2 separate regions of the Homo sapiens genome follow, and region 1 is linked to region 2. The links are contacts of gene promoters, found by promoter capture Hi-C in human tissues and cell types (Jung and others, 2019). All regions are on one chromosome and are shown on one strand. Each heading gives the region's core, a stretch centred on a gene start or on the middle of the fragment in contact. The rest is flanking DNA. Distances are from core to core; before and after follow the strand shown.

Region 1 (7,714 bases), core at 3,729-6,228, 280 kb after region 2:
GAAATTCAGATAACTCCTCTGAGATACTATACATGAGGACCATCCCCAAGACACAGTCATCAGATTCTCCAAGGTCAATATAAAGAAAAAATATTAAATGCAGCTAGAAAGTAGGGGAAGGTCTCCTGGAAAGGGAATCCCATTAGGCTAACAGTGGACCTTTCAACAGAAACCCTACAAGCCAGAAAAGACTGAGGGCCTGTATTCAGAATCCTTAAAGAAAAGAAAGTGTTTGCTGCCACACTTTGAAAAATGTTGACATGGGTGAAGTCTGGAAGCCAAGAATTGTTAGATAATTGTCAGCTAATAAACATTTACACAACTGTTACTGGAAAAGAGATACGGAGTCAGGAGTCAAAGGCAGTGGGATGTTTCCACTCAGGGCTGCAAGCCTGTCCAGGAAAGTCTTCCCTTTGAGGTGGAAATTAGTTCTAGATCTACACAGCCACAGAAGACTGGAATGGAGGTCAACTTGCTATTCCTCCAGCATGTTTCTTGCATCAGTGAGGTCCTACCTCCCTCACTGAAGGACCTCAGATCAAAGGTCTCACGAACTTGTGTCCTACTTCAGTGAGGTTCCTGTAGGAAGTGACTGAAACCTTTTATCTAACCCTCTTCTCTCCCCTACACTAAAGGGGATGGTTCGGATGGTTCAGAGCAGGGGTTCTGGCTCTCGGGGGAGATGCAAACAACTCTGACCATGAGTTAAACCCTGTAGTTAATGGATACCAAATAGAGAAATACAGACTCTAAGAAAACACAAAGCACTATCCCAGTTGGGAGGGCACAAAGGAGACATGATCATCAAAAGCAATGTGGGATTCTGGATTGGATCCTGGAGCAGGAAGTGGACATGAGGGGACAACTGATAAAATTAAAATAAAGCCTGTAGATTCATTAATAGTGTTAGTCAATATTCATTTCTTGCTTTCAATAATTGTATTAAGATCATTTAAGATGTTAACATTATGAGAATCTGTGTGAAAGAAAGAAACCAACTGTACAACTTTTTTGTAAGTTTAAAATTATTTCAAGATAGTAGTTAAGAAAATTTTGTAAATGATACCTACAGATATTATCAAGATAGTGACAGTGAATATTCATTAAAGAGATAATCAGGATGCCCAATGATGCTTCCTTGTGCCTAAAACTGCAATTACAGAGCTGCTCCTCTTCTCAGTATTATGCACCTAGGGCTCTCCTTGAGACAGAGAAGAGTCAGGGCTTGGCTTCATCTCACCCCTACTAGAGCAGGGGTCCCCAACCCACAGGCCATGGACTGGTACCAGTGTGTCTGCTTTTAGGAACTGGGCTGCATAGCAGGCAGTAAGCAGTGACTTAGTGGGTGGAGCTTCATCTGTATTTACAGCTGCTCCCCATCACTCACCTTATTGCCTAAGCATAGCCTCCTGTCAGATCAGTAGGAGCATTAGATTCTCATAAGAGCATGAACCCTATTGTGAACTGTGCATGTGAAGTATTTAGGTTGCACACTCCTTATCTAATCTAATACTCCTTATCTAATATGAGAATCTAATGTCTGATGATCTGTCACTGTCTCCTGTCACTCCCAGATGAGACCATCTAGCTGCAGAAGAACAAGCTCAGGGCTCCCACTGATTCTACAGTATGGTGAGTTGCATATGTAATATATAATGTATATTATTTCATTATATATTACAATGTAACAATAATAGACATAAAGTCCACAATTAATGTAATGTGCTTGAATCATCCTGAAACTATCCCCCTCCTCCTTTGTCCATGGAAAAACTGTCTTCCTTGGGAAACCAGTCCCTGGAGCCAAAAAGGTTAGGGACTGCTGTACTACAACATTCCTGCTGATCACAAAACCCACGCCACTACCTCATTGCTAATAGTCCTTTTACTTAAAGAATCCCAAGAACTGGTCTTAGGAGACAACCAAGATTCCAGAAAGAATGTTGAACAACTGATTCACAGCCTTGCTGCCACAGGCCAGACCACCAGGTGGTCTCTTCCTCAAGAAAACCATCCTAAGCAGATACTGCTGACCTGCATACCGTATACCTCTCCTGCTTTGCCCAGCCCAGCCTGCATACCCTACCCCTGATGTCAATTCCCACACTTTGCCTAATAAAAAAAGCCCTACCAGCTCTTTTCAGGGAGTCATCAGGGAATTCTTTCTCTTTTGTGCTGCCTCTCTTATTTCCAGGAATAATCTCCAATGAAGTTTTGTCTGGGAAAACTATTTTGACCTCATGTCAGTTTCTATTGCATTGAGAGCCCAAGAACCCAAGACCAGTAATGTATTATTTAGGGGCTTGCCTGGGATCATGGTGTAGAAAATAAAATAAGTAGAGGTTCCTCTTCAGAGGGACTTTCCTCCCAGTCTAATTGAGAATAGATAGTAACCTCTCTTAGAAGCAAAATTTACTCAAAGACCTGTGCTAATATTCTTAAATATCTGCTAGCCATAATAAAGAAATCAATATACTCTGCGTTCTTAGCTACCGCATTTTAGCCTAGATATTTGCCCTGGCATGCCTGAACAGGCCCAAGCAAGCATTAGGTCATAGCCTATTCCTCTTCCTTATTTGGAAGTGCTTTTGCCTCTCTCAGCATTCCACAAGTTACTTCCTGTCTTCCTTTGTTCTCCTCTGCCTTTGCCTCTTTGGGGAAGTTCTAAGTTGCTAGCCAATCAGGTCAAGTACAGAATGTGAGGTCCCATTCCAGCCAACGGAAGCCAGACACAGCAGTAGGGTGGCATATCAGGTTATAAATGACCCTGTCTCCTTTGTTCGTGTGTGCTCTCATGGCAAGACTGCTAGCAAGCGGCCCTCTTTCTGCAGAAAGTAAACTAGCCTTGCTGAGAGATCCTTTGTCTCAGTGTTGATTTTTGTGACACCGAGCACCCATTCCCAACAATGGGATGTGGGGAGCCTTTCTCTCCCTGAGGGGGAGACTTGTGAGCTGATGGGACTGCTGGACAAGATCCCTTCACGGCTGACAAGCAGCTGCCTGAACTTCTGATTCAGTGTCGCCAAGCTGGTTGAGTCTTTCTCCAGCCTGCCAGCCCTCCTTGCCTCCCCCATCCCTCCTGCAGGCAATGCTTTTCTCCCTTCCCTTCTTGCTTTCTCTCCTTTTCACTTCCTAACTTTTCTGTCACTTAGGGTGCCTTGTCTCTCCTCTCCTAATCCTTAGTGGTTTGGGTCACGTGAACAGATATCTGTGAGGGACAGGTTGAAATCGTTGACTACCTGGATCTGATCAACTCAGCAGGCAGTGGGACAGAGTGTACCTTTTCCCTGGCCTAAGTTGGTTTGGGTTCCAGTCCCAAGAAACAATTCTATCCATCCCTCCCTCCCTTTCTCCCTCCTTCCCTTTCTTCTTCTTTCCTCTCCCTCTCCCTCCCTTTCTCCCTCCTTCCCTTTCTTCTTCTTTCCTCTCCCTCTCCCTCCCTCTCTCCCTCTATCGTTTTCCCTCCCTCTTCCTCTCCTTCTCTCTCCCCTTCTCTGTCATACTGGCCCTCAATCCTGTAACTCTATTCAAAACCCCTCACCACTTCACTTTCTCTTTGCCACACCATGTGAGGAGGGGAAGCCTGTGGACTTTTCTGTCATCTGTCTGTTTGGGTGTGTGAGTCTATCAACTTTGGGTGCTGGCTTTTTAAGGAGAGAACTGACAGCACGTGGAACCAAAGTTTGTGTCACTTATGTCCCAATGAATTGTTTTCTTTCTGTGCATTTAATTCAATATCTTATTTTCCCATGCAACCCACTGGTTGGCCTCTTGTAAAAAGGAGAGACTTTTGCCTATGGTTCCATGAAATGGAAAGGGATCATTTTCTTTTGTAACGTGGCTTGGCCCCCACAGCTATGCCACAGGGAGCAAGGTCACCAAAGTTGCTCAGAAAAAGAGAACCCAAAACCGTAGCATGCCAGCAAAAGGGTAAGAATTTCTTACCAGCCAGGCTTCTGGACTTTCTCTGTGTGTGTGTGAAAACTGGTTAAGTGAATGACAAAATTCACTGTTTCCCTCCTCTGCAAGGCTTTAACCCATTTCCTGTTGGCCAAGAATATTCTTATCTTTAATACTAATGTAAAATCATATACATTTCTGCTACGTTAATACTAGAGACAAGTTCTGTTTAGAAACAACTCCAAGAACAGTTTTGTTTTTGTTGTTGTTGTTTGAGAGGGAGTCTCGCTCTGCTCCCCAGGCTGGAGTGCAGTAGCATAATATTGGCTCACTGCAACCTCCACCTCCTGGGTTCAAGCGACTCTCCCACTTCAGCCTCCCGAGTAGCTGAGACTACAAGCATAGGCCACCATGCCCGGCTAACTTTTGTATTTTTAGTAGAGACAGGGTTTCACCATATTAGCCAGGCTGGTCTTAAACTCCTGGCCTCAAGTGATCTGCCTGCTTCAGCCACCCAAAGTGCTGCGATTACAGGCATGAGCCAAGAAGGGGTTTTTATGTTTTATTTTCACACTGAAAATCAGTCATATTCGCTTCAGCCTCGAAGAGCATGTTTACGTAAAATTAAATGGGTGTTGACAGCAAACTAGACCTAATAAAAAAAGAAGTCGATAAACCTCTGAGACAGAAAGTATTAAAACATTAGAATGCTCATGCTTTCCAAAGCCAAACAATGTTTACAAAAAAATTTCATCTGAATTCCCATTTTTAAATTTTGCTATTTTTTAGGAGGAGGGTTTAGAAAATTACTTGGGAGCTCTTAAAGCTGACTGCACAAATATTGTCGAGTAAAGCTTAATGTAGTGTAATAAGGAGAGAAGTTTTTGTCTATTATTAAAATTTAAAACAAAGCTACTGTAAATGAACCAGACACTACCTAGAAAAATTACACATAAATCAATTGAACAGAGTCCATCAACAGATAAAGCTAATAATGGAAAACTGAGATATAAGAAAAGTAACATTGTACATTAGAAGAAAAGGGATGAAACTAGTCAACAAGTAATTTCAGATTCAATAGGACATTCATTAGCAAGAAAATTAACTTAGACTCAGCATCACATCTTATAGAAAAAGTTATATGTGAATAAAAATGACTAAAAAGAAAGTAAAAATATAGAACTATTCATAGAACTTTAAGTTGGAGATGGCCTCCTTACGTAAGCGGAAGCCAAAAAGTGGAAAGAAGATGTAGGGCAGTGGTAAAAGACACTGCTGCATAAAAATTTAAAATATCTCAAAAAAGAAGACTCCACCAGCATTACTGAGAAACAAACACAAAGGCGAGGAAAACATATAACAGACAAAAGGTTAGTATCTCCCATATAAAAAGAGCATTTATAAATTAATAAGAAGGAAGCAAACAACCCAAAACAATTATTCTGAATAGTGTATCATTTACAGAAAAGGAACTATACATCATTAAACATAAAAATAATGAGAAATACTGGGAACCTTCATCCAAGCTCATAAATTTCTTCTAATCTTAGTTCTTGCTCACTTTATTTTTTAATTTGGAACCTACCAAAGATAATAAATTCCTCTTTTTGCCACAGCTTAAGCTAGTTTAAACTGGCAAGCAACCACTTGCAAGTAACCAGTTTATAAACATAATGAAAAGGTGCTTCCAAGAACCTCAATAAACAGCATGTAGACAAACAAATGCCATATTTTAAATAACATGGTATGTTCTTTAACTCATCATCTGATGCTTGCTGGGGGAACTAAAATATTTATCAAAACTCTAAAGAAGTTATTGCCCTGTGAGATAATGAAAAAGGCTGTTTCATAGGAAACGTGTACTTCACCCACTTAGTTCAGGAGATCATACCCTGTAGTATTTGGTTTAAATAAACAGTGAACCTGAACCCTTGAAACTGCATGCAGTCCATCTCACATGCAATTACACCCACAGGCTCAAAATAAAGGGATGGAGGAAAATCTACCAAGCAAATGGAAAACAGAAAAAAGCAGGAGTTGCAATCCTAATCTCAGATGACTTTAAACCAACAAAGATAAAAAAAGACAAAGAAGGGTATTATGTAATAGTAAAGGGTTCAATTCAACAAGAAGGCCTAACTATCCTAAATACATATGCACCCAACACAAGAGCACCCAGATTCAGAGAGCAAGCTCTTTGAGACCTTCAAAGAGATCTAGACATCCATACAATAATAGTGGGAAACTTCAATACCTCACTGACAGTATTAGACAGATCATCAGGTCAGAAAATTAACAAAGATATTCAGGACCTGAACTCAGCACTGGATCAAATGGGCCTGATAGACATCTGCAGAACTCTCCACACAAAAGCAATAGAATATACATTCTTCTCACCACCACATGGCACACATTGAAAAATCGACCACATAATCAGACACGAAACACTCCTCAGCAAACACAAAAGAACCGAAATCATAACAACCACTCTCTCAGACCATAGCACAATCAAATTAGAAATCAAGACTAAGGAATTTGCTCAAAACCATACAATTACATGGAAATTGAATAACCTGCCCCTGAATGACTTTGGGGTAAATAATGAAATTGAGGCAGAAATCAAGAAGCTATTTGAAACCAATGAGAACAAAGATACAATATACCAGAATCTCTGGAACACAGCTAAGGCAGGAGTAAGAGGGAAATTTATAGTACTAATTGCCCACTTCAGAGAGTCAGAACTCAGCTTCACAACCTAACATCACAACTAAAAGAACTAGAGAACCCAGAGCAAACAAACCCCAAAGCCGGCAGAAGACAAGAAATAATCAAAATCAAAACTGAACTGAAGGAGACAGAGACACACACACACACACACACACACACACACACACACACACACACAAAAGATCAACAAATCCAAGAGTTGGTTTTTTGAAAAAAATTAATAAAATAGATAGAACACTAGCTAGATTAAAAAAGAAGAGGGAAGATCCGAATAAATACCATTAGAAATGTAAAGGGGGATATTATCACTAACCCCACAGAAATAATAACCATCAGAGAATATTATCAACACCTCTATGCACATAAACCAGAAAATCTACAAGAAACTGATATATTTTTGGACATATACACTCCCAAGATTGGACCAGGAAGAGATTCGGTCCCTGAATAGACCAATAACAAGTTCTGAAATTGAATCAGCAATAAATAGCCTACCAACCAAAAAATTTCCAAGACCAGATGGATTCACAGTTGAATTCTACCAGATGTACAAAGAAGAGCTGGTACCATTCCTACTGAAAGTATTCCAAAAAATTGAGAAGGAGGGACTCCTCCCTAACTTATTCTATGAGGCCAGCATCATCCTGATATCAAAACCTGGCAGACACACAACAAGAAAAGAAAGCTTCAGGCCAATATCCTTGATGAACATCAATGCAAAAAATCCTCAAGAAATCCCGGCAAACTGAATCCAGCAGCACATGAAAAGCTAATCCACCATGATCAAGCAGGCTTTATTCCTGGGATGCAAGGTTGGTTCAACATATGCAAATCAATAAATGTGATTCATTGCAGAAACAGAACTAAAGACAAAAACCACATAATTATCTCAGTAGATGCAGAAAAGGCTTTTGAGAAAAATTCAACACCTCTTCATGTTAAAAACTCTCAATAAACTAGGTATTGAAGAAATATACTTCAAAATAACAAGAGCCATCTGTGACAAACTCACAGCCAACATTATACAGAATGGGCAAAAGCTGGAAGAATTCACCTTGAAAACTGGTACAAGATAAGGATGCCCTCT
Region 2 (7,560 bases), core at 1,934-4,433:
CAGGGGCAGAAAAGAGGAGCTCCTGCCCTCGTCCTCCGTGGCGCCCCCACCCCCACCATCTCCCTGCAGCCTCGCCTCCGCCTCCGCCCCACCCGCTTAGTTTTGATCCGCGCGGAGGAGCGCGTCCCGTGGTTGCCATGGAGACCGCCGGACTGCGGAGGCCACAAACTGTGCGAAGGGGGAGGCGAGGGGCGGGGCCGCGGGAGGCCCGGGGGCTGAGCGCGGCGGCTGGGACTGAGCCAGGGAGAAAGAGGAGAAAAATCCAGCGAAGCCCAACGACCTGGCTCTGCAAGAGAAAAACAACCTGAATAAGCCGGTAATTGTGAACAGGCCGCTCGCTGAGACCTTAACGTCCCCTAAGCCCCCACATCTTTTCTTTCCCTCTGGCCCGTCTCTTTTTCCTCCGTTCCCTCTTTAAAAATTTGCCTGGTTCCTTTATGAGTTAAATAAGATCACATTTATTTATTTATTTGAGACGGAGTCTCGCTCTGTCGCCCAAGGTGGAGGGCAGTGGCGCGATCTTGGCTCACTGCAACCTCCGCCTCCCAGTTCAAGCGATTCTTCTGCCTCAGCCTCCCCAGTAGCTGGGATTACAGGCATGTGTCACCATGCCCGGCTAATTCTTATATTTTTGTTCGTTTCTTTTTTTTGTTTGTTTGTTTTTGAGACGGAGTTTCGCTCTTGTTGCCCAGGCTGGAGTGCAATGGCACGGTCTCAGCTCACTGCAACCTCTGAATCCCGGATTCAAACGATTCTCCTGCCTGAGCCTCCGGAGTAGCTGGGATTACAGGCATGCGCCACCAAGACAGGCTAGTTTTGTAGTTTTAGTAGAGGCGGGGTTTCACCATGTTGGCCAGGCTGGTCTCAAACTTCTGACCTCAGGTGATCCACCCGCTTCAGCCTCCCAAAATGCTGGGATTACAAGCGTGAGCCACCGCGCCCGGCAATTTTTGTATTTTTTAGTAGAGATGGGGTTTTGCCATGTTGACCAGGCTGGTCTCAAACTCCGGACCTCAGGTGATCCGCCCGCCTCAGCCTCCCAAAGTGCTGGATTAAAGGCGTGAGCCACGGCGCCCAGCCTGAGATGGAGAATTTTCAAAAGAGTAGAGACAGATCGGACCTAAGTTTTTAAAAGATGCCCCCAGCTTCTGGATGGGGCCTGGATTGCAAGCAGTGATGGGGAGGCGGGAAGCCCAGTGAGGGGGCTTTGTACACATCCAGGCAAGAGTGGCTGCAAGTATTGTGGCTGCTAAGTGGTTAAATGGTGCAACACATTTAGGAGAAGGGGATTAGCTGTGTCTTTAGCGTCAGCTAGTGTTTTAAATGCTAGTGCCCAAGATCTGGTTCTAATATTATATTAGATCCACCACTCAGAGCTGTGCAACTTCAGACCAGCCTCAGTTTCACCGTCTGTAAAAAGATGATTGATGGCACTGGCCTTACCATGTACCTCTGAGGGTTCCTAACAACGAGGCCTATTCAACATGTCTCTGGATGCCTGGTTCCAAAGATGTGGACCAATGCTAGTCGCATGTCCTGTAGCAGGAGGAGCCACGGACAAAACCCCTCAGACACTGGGTTAAGGAAGGATTTGGCTTTTTCGGCCGGGAGCTTCGGCAGACTCGCCTCTCAACTGGCGGGAGCTTCGGTAGACTCGCGTCTCAAGAACCGAGCTCCCGGCCGAATGCGACTAGCATTGGTTCACATCTTGATTCTTTTTTTTCTTTCTTTCTTTCTTTTTTTTTTTTTGAGACGGAGTCTTGCTCTGTCGTCCAGGCTGGAGTGCAGTGGTGCGATCGCGGCTCACTGCAACCTCCGCCTCCCGGGTTCAAGAGATTCTTCTGCCTCAGCCTCCCGAGTAGCTGGGACTACAGGCACGTACCACCACGCGCGGCTAATTTTTTTGCATTTTTAGTAGAGACAGGGTTTCACCGCGTTAGCCAGGATGGTCTTGTCTTGATCTCCTGACCTCGTGATCTGCCCGCCTCAGCCTCCCAAAGGGCTGGGATTACAGGCGTGAGCCACCGCGCCTGGCCATCTTGACTCTTTGGTCGACACAAAAGGCAGACTATTCTGGATTCAAATCCAAACTCAACCACTCCCCATGGCTGTGACCTTGAGAGTGTGGTTTTATGTCCTTGGGCCTCAGTTTCCTCAGCTGTCTAATGGGAATTGTACTCATGCTACCAGTCTCCTGTTATAGCAAGGATTTCCTGAGTTCATTCATAGAAAGCACTGGGAATGGTGCCTACTACATAGGAAGCGCCTCATAAACCGTGCCTATCCTTAGCCATCTCATTCTTTTTTCGAAGTTGCAAAATATTTCACTGTAAGATACTACCATAAAATAGAGGCAGTCTCTACTCGTGAACTTTTAGGGTTTTTTGTTGTTGTTTATTTGTAGGGGTTTTTTTGCACTTTTGTTTTTTTGAGACAGTCTCCCTCTGTTGCGCAGGCCGGAGTGCAGTGGCGCGATCTCTGCAACCTCCACCTCCCAGGTTCACGCCATTCTCCTGCCTCAGCCTCTCGCGTAGCTTGGGACTACGCACGCGCACCACCACACCCGGGGTAGAGACGAGGGTTTCACCATGTTGGGCAGGCTGGTCTCGAACTCCTGGCCTCAAGTGTTCCACCCACCTGGGCCTCCCAAAGTGCTGGCATTACAGGCATGAGCCACCGCGCCTGGCCATGAACATTTGGGTTTATTCATCCCCTCAAAAATATGTATTGAGCCCTGACCTGCCAAGCGCCACAGTGGGACTGTTGCAGTCAGGTACCCATTTCTCTACCCACGCATATAGGTGTACGGGTACCGATAGTCGCGTGAATTTAAAATGCTAATCTGTGGTGCCAGTGGCTCTCAAAAAGTAGAATCCACTAGCACACCCACCTCCCGGACTTGGCTGGAAACTTGCACATTTCGGATGGCAGGTTTGGGAACCGCTGCCTTTCAGGAAAGGTGCTGACGTGGGCCACTGCCGCTTCGCTGGGAAGCAATGGGCCCAGCTAGGCCCGGGGCGCGGCCACACCCCTGTGGGGGAGGGGAAGGAGGCCGCCCCGAAGGGAGTGGACAGCCCCCCTGTCAGTCTTCCAGAGTCTGGGAGTGTAAGATGAGACGGGGGAAGGTGGGCCTCATTCTGGCGGAGGGCGAGGAGGAACTTCCTGCCCGCGCGCTCCACGGTGCAGAGCTCTAAGCGCGCGGGCTGGCAGGCTGCGGCGCGTCAAGGTCAGCCTGGAGCTGGGTGGCGGCCTGCCTGGGGGCGGGGGACCCTACTGGAGGCCCGGGCTGGGGCCTCCCAGCGCCTCGGCCATATTGAATAGCTTCGACTGGACCGTCTTTGTCTGCGAAGTCCTGTCCCAAGTTCCAGCCGCGTCCCTGGGGCCTGGGGCAGGAAGAGTCGCTGGCAGCCCGCGCGCCCCAACTTGGAGCTGGGACACCACGTTTCCAGCTTGGAGTGGGCCTTGAGCCTTGGGACTGACCTCGCCCCCGGCTCACGTAGGCATCCTGGAAATTGATTCCCCCAAGTCCTTGGTGGGGGAGCCGGACTTGGTCAAGACTGTACTTGTTGCAGGCGAAGAGATTGGAGGCGTTTGGCTCGTCCCTGGCTAGGGAGGTGAGACTCTCCGGTCAGCGTTGCTGGAACTCCCCCCATCCAGTCCCTCCCTCAAGACTAAGGGCTACAGTAGTTTGTTGGGGCTCATTGCCCCCTCACCCCAGATATCACCCTGGAGATCTTAAAGACTCTCGAGAAAAGCCACGTGGGGGGCTGGTTCCCCTGGGGCTTCCTGCCGTCCCCCGACTGCCTCATTCTTTGGAGCGTCCCCGATGTCTGCAAAGATGTGGATTTGGACGTCCTCGTGGAAGCCCTAAAGCCCGTGGGGACATTTAAGAAGATCGGCAAGGTGTTCCGCAAGGAGGAGGACTCCACGGTGGGGATGCTGCAGATCGGGGAGGACGTCGACTATTTGCTCATCCCCCGGGAGGTCAGGCTGGCTGGGGGCGTCTGGAGAGTCATCTCTAAGCCCGCCACCAAGGAAGCAGAATTTCGGGAGCGGCTGACCCAGTTCCTGGAAGAAGAGGGCCGCACCCTGGAGGACGTGGCCCGCATCATGGAGAAGAGCACCCCGCACCCGCCCCAGCCCCCCAAAAAGCCCAAGGAGCCCCGAGTGAGGAGGAGAGTGCAGCAGATGGTGACTCCTCCGCCCCGGCTGGTCGTGGGCACGTACGACAGCAGCAACGCCAGCGACAGCGAGTTCAGCGACTTCGAGACCTCCAGAGACAAGAGCCGCCAGGGCCCGCGGCGGGGCAAGAAGGTGCGCAAAATGCCCGTCAGCTACCTGGGCAGCAAGTTCCTGGGAAGCGACCTGGAGAGTGAGGATGATGAGGAACTGGTCGAGGCCTTCCTCCGGCGACAGGAGAAGCAGCCCAGCGCGCCGCCTGCCCGCCGCCGCGTCAACCTGCCAGTGCCCATGTTTGAGGACAACCTGGGGCCTCAGCTGTCCAAAGCGGACAGGTGGCGGGAGTATGTCAGCCAGGTGTCCTGGGGGAAGCTGAAGCGGAGGGTGAAGGGTTGGGCGCCGAGGGCGGGCCCCGGGGTGGGCGAGGCCCGGCTGGCCTCCACCGCAGTGGAGAGCGCAGGGGTATCATCGGCGCCAGAGGGCACCAGCCCGGGGGATCGCTTGGGAAACGCGGGAGATGTTTGTGTGCCCCAGGCTTCCCCTAGGCGATGGAGGCCCAAGATCAACTGGGCCTCCTTTCGGCGCCGCAGGAAGGAGCAGACAGCACCCACAGGTCAGGGGGCAGACATCGAGGCTGATCAGGGGGGAGAGGCTGCAGATAGTCAAAGGGAAGAGGCCATAGCTGACCAGCGGGAAGGGGCTGCAGGTAATCAGAGGGCAGGGGCCCCAGCTGACCAGGGGGCAGAGGCTGCAGATAATCAGAGGGAAGAGGCTGCAGATAATCAGAGGGCAGGGGCCCCAGCTGAGGAGGGGGCAGAGGCTGCAGATAACCAGAGGGAAGAGGCTGCAGATAATCAGAGGGCAGAGGCCCCAGCTGACCAGAGGTCACAGGGCACAGATAACCACAGGGAAGAGGCTGCAGATAATCAGAGGGCGGAGGCCCCAGCTGACCAGGGGTCAGAGGTTACAGATAATCAAAGGGAAGAGGCCGTACATGACCAGAGGGAAAGGGCCCCAGCTGTCCAGGGTGCAGATAATCAGAGGGCACAGGCCCGGGCTGGCCAGAGGGCAGAGGCTGCACATAATCAGAGGGCAGGGGCCCCAGGTATCCAGGAAGCTGAAGTCTCAGCTGCCCAAGGGACCACAGGAACAGCTCCAGGAGCCAGGGCCCGGAAACAGGTCAAGACAGTGAGGTTCCAGACCCCTGGACGCTTTTCGTGGTTTTGCAAGCGCCGGAGAGCCTTCTGGCACACTCCCCGGTTGCCAACCCTGCCCAAGAGAGTCCCCAGGGCAGGAGAGGCCAGGAACCTCAGGGTGCTGAGGGCCGAGGCCAGAGCAGAAGCTGAGCAGGGAGAGCAAGAAGACCAGCTGTGAGGTGAGGGCTAGAGACAGCCCACGGGCCCTCCCTCCAAGTGTGGGAGGGAGAGATGCTCTGCCTCTGAACTTCAAAGTGGAGGTGGAGTGCTGGCCACGTCTCCACCTAACAACCCTCTTTATTCTCTTGTTAAAGTTTTGTTCATGCTTTGATTTTTTTTTAAATTTTTTAGAGACAGGGTCTCACTCTGTTGCCCAGGCTGGAGTGCAGTGGCATGATCATAACTCACTGCAGCCTCAAACTTCTGGCCTCAAGTGATCCTCCTGCCTCGGCCTCCCAAAATGCTGGGATTACAGATGTGAGCCACCACACACACCATCTGATTAAAAAAAAAAAATACTGATTCCTTGTAGCAACCCAAAAAATGTAAAGAAAGAATTCGACACAATGGGGTTGCGTCACCTATAGTTTTCATTTCCTCAAATGCAACTCAAGGTGCTCAGCTTGATAAAGGGAGAGAGGGAGGGCAGGGGAGAAACTGACTCCTTTTTCCATCTCTTTTTTGCCTGCACACTTAATGTGGACTGCCTCCTTGGACTTAAAAAGAGTTGAGCCAACATGCAAATCAAAAAACATTTATGAACTGATTTCTTAGCTTTGGACTTGACAACTGACGAATGCTCTGGGGGTGACCTGGCCCTTGCTGTCCGTTCCACTCCCATCCTTGATGATGGAGACACCTGTGTTTATGTTGTCACTTCGCTTGCCATCCTCATGCCCCGGGCTCTGCTGGTTTGGAGGGGACAGGGCCCTTGGTTTGCACACCTCACCCGATCTTGGTTATAAGGTACAGTAAAAGCGTCTGAAAAATGCATTCAAAACACAGATTCTGGGGCCCTCGGCACCAGAGGTGTGGATTTGCTAGCGGTGCCTGTGTGGCTCTGAATTCTGTTTGCATCAAGCTCCACGGACATCTGGGCAACTCGGCCACTGGACACATTGAAAAATCATTGCAATAGGAAAAGGCCCAAAAGAGGGGCTGTGGTTGGCCGGGCATGGTGGCTCACGCCTGTAATCCCAGCACTTAGGGAGGCCAAGGCGGGTGGATCACGAGGTCAAGAGATCGAGACCATCCTGGCCAACGTGGTGAAACCCCGTCTCTAATAAAAATACAAAAATTAGACTGGCCTTGTGGCGCACGCCTGTAGTCCCAGCTACTCTGGAGGCTGAGGCAAGAGAATCTCTTGAACCCAGGAGGTGGAGGTTGCAGTGAGCCGAGATTGTGCCATTGCACTCCAGCCTAGTGACACAGTGAGACTCTGTCTCAAAAAAAAAAAAAAAAAAAAAAAAAAAAAGAGGCTGTGTGTATTGTGCATTAATTGCTGCTGCATTTTTTTTTTTCTTTTTGGAGATGGAATCTCACTCTCTGTCTCCCAGGCTGGAGTGCAGTGGCACGATCTCGGCTCACTGCCATCTCCGCCTCCCTGGTTCAAGCGATTCTCCTCCCTCAGCCTCCCGAATAGCTGGGACTACAGGTGTGTGCCACCACACCTGGCTAATTTTTGTATTTTTAGTAGAGATGAGGTTTCACCATATTGGCCAAGCTTGTCTTGAACTCCTAACCTCAGCTGATCTGCCCACCTCTGCTTCCCAAAGTGCTGGGATTACAGGCATGAGCCACTGCACGCGGCCAACTGCTTCCTATAATTGGGAAGAAACTGGGTTGCTAAAGCCCTGTGGAGGTTAGGAGGAAGCTGGGGGCCTGTATTGCCTTGTGTCCCCACAACCCCTAGCAGTGAAAAACAGCAAATGACCACACTCTAGCCTTGCTGAGGGCAGGAGAAAAGAGAGTTCGTGGAGGTCCAAAGGCCAGTCTGTCTTCCTAACTGGTTGCAGGCCTGGCCTAAGTTTCTTATTTTTTTCCTCAGGAAAGTAAAGAATTCTATCCCACCACCCTCCTTTTGTTTTTCTCTCTTCCACCCTCCTCCCTCCTTCCCTCCCTCCCCTCCCCTTCCCTCCCTCCCCTCCCCTCTCCCTCTCTCCCTCCACTCCCCTCCCCTCTCCCT

What was found. The method cuts DNA at HindIII sites, captures the fragments that hold promoters and counts their contacts. A contact is called where the count stands out against the background at its distance.
Region 1: a fragment that was not itself captured here is called in contact with the fragment with the promoter of CCDC8 in region 2 in 2 of the 25 tissues and cell types used here (small bowel and thymus).

What each region holds. Positions count from the first base shown.
Region 1 is chr19:46,128,399-46,136,112 of GRCh38, reverse strand. It overlaps a transcript of IGFL2 not described here. Among named protein-coding and RNA genes, the nearest start is that of IGFL3, 7.6 kb to the right of the region's middle. RefSeq lists enhancers at 811-1,641, 1,642-2,473, 2,474-3,305. The HindIII fragment of the contact is 6,419 bases long and covers 1,769-7,714 here.
Region 2 is chr19:46,409,187-46,416,746 of GRCh38, reverse strand. CCDC8 (coiled-coil domain containing 8 subunit of 3M complex) reads left to right here and starts at 3,183. Exons shown (of 1, transcript NM_032040.5): 1 at 3,183-6,418. The coding sequence starts at 3,937. The coding sequence ends at 5,553. RefSeq lists a silencer at 127-216 and enhancers at 643-1,475, 1,476-2,309, 3,976-4,809, 7,543-7,560. The HindIII fragment of the contact is 10,715 bases long and covers 1-7,560 here.